2 separate regions of the Homo sapiens genome follow, and region 2 is linked to region 1. The links are contacts of gene promoters, found by promoter capture Hi-C in human tissues and cell types (Jung and others, 2019). All regions are on one chromosome and are shown on one strand. The core of a region is centred on a gene start or on the middle of the fragment in contact, and the rest is flanking DNA. Distances in the headings are between cores, read along the strand shown.

Evidence for each region. Contacts are between HindIII fragments. The study calls those that stand out against the background at their distance.
Region 2: a contact is called between the fragment with the promoter of NUP210L here and the fragment with the promoter of CRTC2 in region 1, in 1 of the 25 tissues and cell types used here (aorta).

The regions. Positions count from the first base shown.
Region 1 is chr1:153,956,041-153,960,563 of GRCh38, forward strand. It overlaps CRTC2 (CREB regulated transcription coactivator 2), which reads right to left and starts at 2,572. Exons shown (of 14, transcript NM_181715.3): 1 at 2,305-2,572. The coding sequence starts at 2,457. SLC39A1 (solute carrier family 39 member 1) reads right to left here. Exons shown (of 4, transcript NM_001271958.2): 4 at 3,070-4,523. The coding sequence ends at 4,058. RefSeq lists enhancers at 1,652-1,701, 1,762-1,981, 1,992-2,041, 2,602-2,801 and a silencer at 2,202-2,351. The HindIII fragment of the contact is 13,419 bases long and covers 1-4,523 here.
Region 2 is chr1:154,153,097-154,157,429 of GRCh38, forward strand. NUP210L (nucleoporin 210 like) reads right to left here and starts at 1,977. Exons shown (of 40, transcript NM_207308.3): 1 at 1,746-1,977. The coding sequence starts at 1,948. It also overlaps a transcript of TPM3 not described here. RefSeq lists enhancers at 1,310-1,810, 1,811-2,311 and a silencer at 2,918-3,095. The HindIII fragment of the contact is 16,458 bases long and covers 1-4,333 here.

The sequences.
Region 1 (4,523 bases), core at 1,322-3,821:
ATTACTGCCAGCCTCTTTCCTTCCCACTCTGGAGAGCACAGGCTTCTGGGCTCTGCCACTTGCCCAGCCTCAGGAAGGCTACACAAAGCCTGCACCTCCCAAACTAGAACATCCAAGGAATAGCAGCTCTCCTAGCTGGAAAAACAGCACCAAAACCAAGGGACATTCTTCCACTGAATCCTAAGGCTCTTGAATTGGCAGGGAAGCCTGGAGAAGGAGGGTGGACAGAGAGCAGCAGCCCACTCCAGCATGGGCCAGGGCCATCTTCCTGGTCTCATCCTCACTTTGGGGAGCTATGTCTGGCATAGGCGTAAGACAGCCTGGCATGGGTTTAGCCTGTGTACAGACATCCTGTCTCTGTGAGAGGTGAGCATCTATTTCCAAGGCTCAGCCCCTGCGACCAGCCAAATAAACAGGCCCAGGGCAAGGCCATGGGGAGGAGGGCAGCTGAGGAGGGGCAAGTTCTAAGAGCTTCCAGGGTCACACTCTTGTACAGAAGCCAACATCAGAACTGACATTCTGTTCCAGGAGGTCAGCCTAGTGAGCACTGTGCTGACCTCTGGACCACTTGAAGACCACTTGAGGTCTCATATATGGCAACCCCAGTATCTCAGTGGTATAGCCTCCCATGGCCATCTCTGTCTCAAATGAGCCCTCCCACCTGGCCAGATAACAGGCTGAGTCCCAGATCTCTTGTCCCTAGCTCTAGACTTTTGGGTCCCCTGGCCATGTATGCCCACTAGACTTTTCTGTGTAGCTGAGAAATTAACCAATAGGAGCAAGGTGGGTAGAAGGGGCCTTTTAAGAGATCGAGGCACCGTAAAGAGAAGCCCCAGCTTTTGAGTTTCGCACAGCCTTTCTTTGCACATACGAGCCCTAAGATCCCACCATGCCTCTGCTAGAATCACAGTCCTGAGGGCAGGGCCTCACGCTATCAAGATCAGCCTCCCATCTTCCTGTCTCTGTCCCCAACATGATGAAAAAGCTCCTAAAGGGGAGCAGTCTACAGTTAGATAATAATCCTCACAATGGTTACAGTGGGTTATGCACACACATGCATTTAAGTGTGCACATGCGTGCACAGACACCCTCCCAGATTTGCCTCCCCACCTAACTTCTGACTCCCACAAACTAGGGCACATAGTCCCTAGAGACTCAAAGGGGAAAGGACGAGAAAAAAAAAAAAGTAACAGAGTCAAGGGGGATACACACAAAAATACAACCAGAGTCACAGTCATAAATGCAACCACAGTCAGACCAGCAGAAAAAGGCTAGAGATGTTGTAGTAATGTTCCACCATCAATCCTTAAATTCCTTCTAGCTCTCTGCCATGAGGAATCATTGCAATATCCTTACCTACTGTTGTTTTAGAAGAATGTGTCCCTAAATTAAGACTGCATACCACCTAGGCGGACTCCTACCCCTTGGTCCCTCTGACCTCCAGCCTTGGAAAGCAAGAAACCAAGCCAGGGGGGCTTCAGAGGCAGCCTGGCAGAGGCCTGAAAGTTCTTTCAAGAACTCCTAGGAATGAATATTCTCAACACATAGAAGACCCTCCAAGGCACCCTACACACTAACCCACAAAGCAGCCAACTCCCTAGAAAGCTCAGCAAACCATAGAGTTCCACACAACTTATGGTCGGACGGTTACCCAGTTGTCGGATTCAAAACCCTACCTCTCCTCCAAGGAGGCCAGGACAAAACACCAAGCAATGGACCTCACCTTCATTCACGTCAGGAAACCACAAGAAGTATTTGAAAAAGGAAGCAAAAGGACGGGACGCAGGAGGGGACTTCCTGCCCCACTATACACAGCACCGCTCGTTCAAACCACTCAAGGGGCCCTTTCCCGGGGGCACCAAAGCGCAGAAGGCAGAGGGACCAGTTTGGAGGAGATCACAAACTCAGAGGAGCCAGGTTACAGACAAGCAGCCCTCCTCCCAGGCCATACCCCAATACCAGGCATGCTTCAGTAGCGTCCTCGAGGGGACTCCGTCAGGGATGCACAAGGACCACTCACCTCCTACCTCCGCCGGACTTCATCTCCCCTCTCCGCCCACTCCCACCTCACGTACTCGGCCCCCAGTCGCCTCTACACCCCGAACCTCTCCGGTGTTTCGGTCTCCCCCGGCAAAATCCTTCTTCCTGCCCCTCGGCCCTCAACCTGCGCCTCCCAAACGGCGGCGCCCGCGTCCCCTGCTCTGTTCCGCCTCCTTCGCTGCGGCGCCCGCCCCCGCCCCGCCTCTCCGGTCTCCGCTCCGTAACTGCTCAGCTCTGCTCCGGCTCCCCGGCGCGGCCCCTCACCCGGGTGGAGCCGATGTCCATCATCACCTCCTCGAAGGCCGCCGTCTCCTCGGCCTGACGCTGCTTCTGCAGCGCAATCTTCTCACTAAATTTGCGCGGATTGGAAGCCGAGGCCGTGGCCGAACCAGGCCCGTTCGCCCCCGACGTCGCCATCTTCCTTCCCCGTCCCTCCCTGCCACCCTCCCAGTACCAGCCGCGGCCTCCGCCGCGGCCTCGGCCCGGCTCCTCCAGCCGTAGCCACCGCCGCCTCAGCGAGCACCGCGAACCCGGCCCCAGCCTAGCCCTGACCTGTTGCGCGCGGGGGCCGCCGGGAATTGTAGTTTGTTTACGAGACTCCTTCACATCCCCAGTCACGCAGCACTAGGAGGAAACGGACTCCACTTCCCAGCAGCCCTGCTGACTCCGGAAACTGGGGACTTGGCTCCACCCTCTCGGCTACTCCCTGAGAGGTGCAAGCTGGGAAGAGTAGTTCTAAATTAGCCCTGAGACTACGAACGGAAAGGAGAGAGGGATTGAAGAGAGAAGAAAGGAAGAGGGAGGGGAGGGAAGAGAAGGGAAGCCGAGGGGTGGAGACCGGGAAAGAAGTACCAAGACACAAAGGAGGAAAAATTAGGTCATCTTCAGGGAAGGGGACTATCGGGTCCTGAGTGAAAACAGTGAGACCAAGAATCTTAAAACAGCTGTAAACATCTGGGACTCAGGCCCTCTCAGGCTGGCCACATGCCCACCCCTTTCCCAAAACAAACGAATCAGATACTGTACAGATGTCTAGAAACATCTTTTATTTGGGTAACAGGTCCCAAAACAGGTCAGTTAATAAAATAGATTCTAAAGAATATGTCCCTATGCACAGCCCTCCCTCCCCAAAAATAACGCTGGGGGTAGGCATTGCCCTTCCCCCTTGGGCTCCTCGGGTGTATTTAAAAAAATGTTTTGGCAGCTCAGTGTTTATCATCTGGGCATGGGACACCATGTCCATGTCCCCATATTCCTAGGGTACAGCAGCAGTAGATGGCTGCAACAACCTTCCTCCTACCCCAGCCCAGAAAATATTTCTGCCCCACCCCAGGATCCGGGACCAAAATAAAGAGCAAGCAGGCCCCCTTCACTGAGGTGCTGGGTAGGGCTCAGTGCCACATTACTGTGCTTTGAGAAAGAGGAAGGGGATTTGTTTGGCACTTTAAAAATAGAGGAGTAAGCAGGACTGGAGAGGCCAGAGAAGATACCAAAATTGGCAGGGAGAGACCATTTGGCGCCAGTCCCCTAGGAGATGGGAGGAGGGAGATAGGTATGAGGGTAGGCGCTAAGAAGAGTAGGAGGGGTCCACTCCAAGTGGCAGGGTGCTGAAATGGGCTAGGACCAACAGGACACTGACTCTAGGTTTATGACCTGTCCATACCCGTTCCACAGCAGCTGGGTACCCACCTCCAGCCTCCCATGTGAGCCTGTCCTTATGTATAGTGTCCAACCTCTGATTCTAGCAGTCAAGTGTCTTCCCCAATCCTAATGTCCCCTGATATGTCTCTAGCGACTTGACCATCTCTTGTTCCTTGGGACTGGGGCCAGCCTCTTGTCTGCCCACTTCCCTCTCATTAGTCAGATAGCCCCAAAGGCTCTATCTTTAGCTCCCAGAGAACTTTTTGGTCCTCAGTATTTCCCTTCCCCTTTCCTTCCTATTCCCCACAACTGGGGGAGGGAAGGGAGAACAGGGGCACCTGATCATCAATCTCCCCTGCCCCTCTCTTGAAGCCCCCTAGATTTGGATGAAGAGCAGGCCAGTGAGCAGGGCAAAGCCTGCTAGGAGCAGAATGACCTTGAGGATCCTTTGCTCAGAACTGGCCAGCTCCTGGGGCAGGATTTCCAGAAAGGTGATATAGAGAAAGGTGCCAGCTGCCATGCCCTCTAGCACAGACTGGGCCAGCTGGTGCAGAGGTCCTGCCGACTCTGCCAGAGCTGCACCCAGCCCGATGCCTAGAGGTGTCATGCATGAGAAGAGGATCCCACAGCCAGCCACCACCTGTGCCCTAAGGTGGCTCTGCAACAGCCGCAGGGACAGGCTGACAGCCAGGATGCCCTTGTGGAGCAGCAAAGCCAGGCACAGCTCCATGGCCCGAGCCCGGTCTCGCTGCAGCCCTACCGCCAGCCCCTCGAACACGGAGTGGAGGGCCAGGGAGAACACCAGTACACAGGCACGCAAGGCTGAGGGGGTTGCTGGGGCT
Region 2 (4,333 bases), core at 727-3,226, 200 kb after region 1:
ATTTTTTTTAAAAGATTTTTATATTCTTCCCTCAGTATGCAGAAATACGACTGATGTGTTTCTAGTAATGAGAGGGGACTTTCTCATACTCTGAGGAAAGTTTCCTTCAATCCTAGAAACCAGGCTTCTGATATCTAGGATGGAAAAGGTGCCTAAATTATGAGGTGTGAGTCCAACTCAAAATACCAAAAACATTCATAAATATTTTTATTCTTATTTATTATTATGTTTTTGAGACCGAGTCACTTTGTTGCCCAAGCTGAAGTGCAGCAGGGCGATCTCAGCTCACTGCAACATTCGCCTCCAGGGTTCAAGCGATTCTCCTGCCTCAGCCTCTCGAGTAGCTGAGATTACAGGTGTCTGCCACTATGCCCGACTAATTTTTGTATTTTTAGTAGGGATGGGCTTTCATCATGTTGGCCAGGCTGGTCTTGAACTCCTGACTTCAAGTGATCTGCCTGCCCCGGCCTCCCAAAGTGCTGGGATTACAGGCGTGAGCCACTGCGCCCGGCCGAATGTTTTTATTTTAAATAGAGACGGGGTCTCACTATGTTGATCCGGCTGGTCTCAAACTCCTGGCCTCAAGTAATCCTCCTGCCTTGGCCTCCCAAAGTGCTGGGATTACAGGCGTGAGCCACCATGCCTGGCCTCATTAATATTTTTGGAGTGATAGAAGAAATGGCTTTCAATGCTGGAAAGATGCCTTGCATCACCCTCACGGTCAGGAAACACACACGTCACACTGGATCATCTTACAAGCTCACTTTCCTTATACTTCCTCATAAAATGAGAGGTGAATTTATACTCGGAACAAACCTCATTGCTTCTCCTAGGAGATGGCAAAGGGGTATCTACTCCATCTAGGATGAATGCACTGGCATCCTGAAGCTCACTTCGGTTAGGTTCTCTCATACCTTAGGCAACCACATAACCCATCATTGGGTCCTCTCACACCAGAAAATCATGTCTCTTCATCTTCAGTCAGGAAGTCATTATCCCGGAGTTGTGTGTACCCCCTGTCCTCACACTTCAAGCGGGTACCCTTTTATAAATGGGGCAATTTTGATAATACAGACAGATCTCATCTCCACCCACGATAAATCTTCTCATATTCCCAGAAGTTTACACTTCATAGTCTCTGGGCCTCACTTTCCTCGTCTGTGAAATGGGAGTAATAGTACTTACTTCATAAGACTGCAAAAAGCGAATGAGTTAACACATGTAAAGTGCTTAGTTAACCCCCAATACTTGGCTGTTGTGTTTTAAGTCCTTCTCACATTGAATAGCTCATCTATAGTTAGTGGGGACCCTCGCACCCCAAGTTTTCCTGTTCCTACAGAAATTTCCTCAGATATGGGGAACTTCCTCTTACTCTAGTTGTTTACATTGGAAGTCATCAGTACCTGTGGCCTCCAACACAGGGCTTCCCTTTACCCTGACGGCTGCTCATAGTGACCACCCCTTCCCAACACACACAGAGAAGAGGCCAGTCCCACATCCCGAGAATTCCTCACACGTCTGGAAGATTGTCACACAGCTGGAGGATATACCACATGAGTAGGACACGCCACACCCAAGGGTCTGCTCCTCGCCACCTTCACTGACACCACACTCTCCTCCCCTACCGGCTAGGCCCCTTCACGCGGCCCCACACGGTATTCCTGTGGGATCTTACAGAGGGAACCCCCCTCACCCTTACTGGATGGTAGTGAGGGTGCATATCCTTGTCACCCACCACCCCTCACCAAGTGTAGCAGCCCCGCTGGGCCTCCAGCAGGAAAGGCACCCGGCCTGGCTCTCGGCCGAAGGGTAGCAACACCTGTGGCACGTTAAGTTTGTTGGCCAGGGTCCCACGCAAAACCAGAAACAACAACAGGAGGCGGTGTAGACGCAAGAAGAAAAAGAGCCCGAAGCCTCGGCGTCTTGATGACGCCGGACAGCCAGTCATGGCGACTGCCAGGTCTCGGGTTCCCGCTCAACTACAGCCGGCTCACAGCTCCATCAGCCAATCCACAGGCGTGACGTCAGCAGAGGGGGATGGGACCTGCTTCTTGCTCGGATGTGTGGGCATTTTTAAATGCAGTCCTTCAGCAAGCCAATATAATGGAAACTTTTGGCACAAACCCAGCTAAAACACCTCAAACTCTCTTAAAGGGCTTTCCTAAATACTGGATGGCAGACCTTTTTAACAGTAAGGAACAAGCAGAAAAGTCTAAAAAAAACCCTTTAATTTCTTCCAGTTTTAATTTCTTCTGTTGCACACTGTTTATCTTAACACCACACCCTCCGCCCGACAAAAAAACTTTTTGCAATGATTTCCAGTTAGCATTGGTCCATGCCTATCAACGGAAAATTGTGCAGTCTCTGGGATAAACAGCTCGACTTTGTCAAGGGAACCGTGTATTTTTACTAGAAGTCAGATTCACGTCCGGCCTCCAGGCCAGAATGCAGGAAATGCCAGACACTGGCGTCTCAAAAGCAGCTTTCAAAGTTATCCACTCACACAGCCGGCCTCTAAGCAAATACTCTTGAGAGCACTTGTTGTTTTCTCCAAATATCCAAACAGAATATAAACTCAAAGCTGTTTCAGTACAGTTGGTTAAAACCACGCATTTATAGTAGTGATCAGCATTATATATTGTTTTAAGGAGCATAAATCCATAGTTTATAAGGATTGATATGGTTGTGAAGGAAAATGTATATAGTTCAGCCTGAGATGTCAGTGTTAACCTATAAAAGGCCCAGCACATTAAGTGTTCTTTCTAATCTTCATGTTTACTCTGACAATACTTATCTCCATTTTACAGATGATAAAACTAAACATTTGCTCTATATTAAATCCTGTTGCTCCAGCTGGGTGCGGTGGCTCACGCCCGTAATCCCAGCATTTTGGGAAGCTGAGGCAGGTGGATCACCTGAAGGTCAGGAGTTCGAGACCAGCCTGGCCAACATGGTGAAGCCCTGTCTCTACTTAAAATATAAAAAATTACCCGGGCATGGTGGCAGGTGCCTGTAATCCCAGCTACTCGGGAGGCTGAGGCAGGAGAATCTCTTGAACCAGGAGGCGGAGGTTGCAGTGAGCCGAGATCGAGCCATTACGCTCCAGCCCAGGCAACAAGAATGAAACTTCATCTCAAAAATAATAATAATAAAGAATAAATCCTGTTGCTACCACCCACAAAGATGCTATTTTTAACCCAAACCTCATAGCTTCTGTGGAGAAAGCACATTTAGTTTTAATAAATAAAAGTCAAATAGGTCTGAGGGTTGGAGGGACTGGTTCTTTATTTCAAAAAGACACTTGTCAATATTCAGTATCAAAACAGTTGCACTATTGATTTCTCTTTCTCCCAATCGGCCCCAAAGAGACCACATAAAAGGAGAGTACATTTTAAGCCAATAAGCTGCAGGATGTACACCTAACAGACCTCCTAGAAACCTTACCAGAAAATGGGGACTGGGTAGGGAAGGAAACTTAAAAGATCAACAAACTGCCAGCCCACGGACTGCAGAGGCTGTCACAGCCAGATGGGGTGGCCAGGGTGCCACAAACCCAAAGCAAAGTTTCAAAATAATATAAAATTTAAAAAGTTTTGTACATAAGCTATTCAAGATTTCTCCAGCACTGACTGATACAAAGCACAATTGAGATGGCACTTCTAGAGACAGCAGCTTCAAACCCAGAAAAGGGTAATGAGATGAGTTTCACATGGCTAAATCAGTGGCAAAAACACAGTCTTCTTTCTTTCTTTCTTTCAAGGAGGCAGGAAAGCAATTAAGTGGTCACCTCAACATAAGGGGGACATGATCCATTCTGTAAGCAGTTGTGAGGGGGTAGAGATGGGACAAAATTTTGGTCTCAGAGGTCTTACCATCTTAATTTGGTAACTTCTAATGAAAAAAATAAAAAATAGAAATAACATTATCCAAAGATATCTTAAAGCTGAAAACTTGAACAGCACATTTTTTGTTTTTGTTGTTGTTTGGCTAACTCCTCCTGGAATCACCTTTCTGGTTTAGCTAGTACTTTGTACAGAACAATGAGGTTTCCCACAGCGGAGTCTCCCTGGGCTCTGTTTGGCTCTCGGTAAGGCAGGCCTACACCTTTTCCTCTCCTCTATGGAGAGGGGAATATGCATTAAGGTGAAAAGTCACCTTCCAAAAGTGAGAAAGGGATTCGATTGCTGCTTCAGGACTGTGGAATTATTTGGAATGTTTTACAAATGGTTGCTACAAAACAACAAAAAAGGTAATTACAAAATGTGTACATCACAACATGCTTTTTAAAGACATTATGCATTGTGCTCACATTCCCTTAAATGTTGTTTCCAAA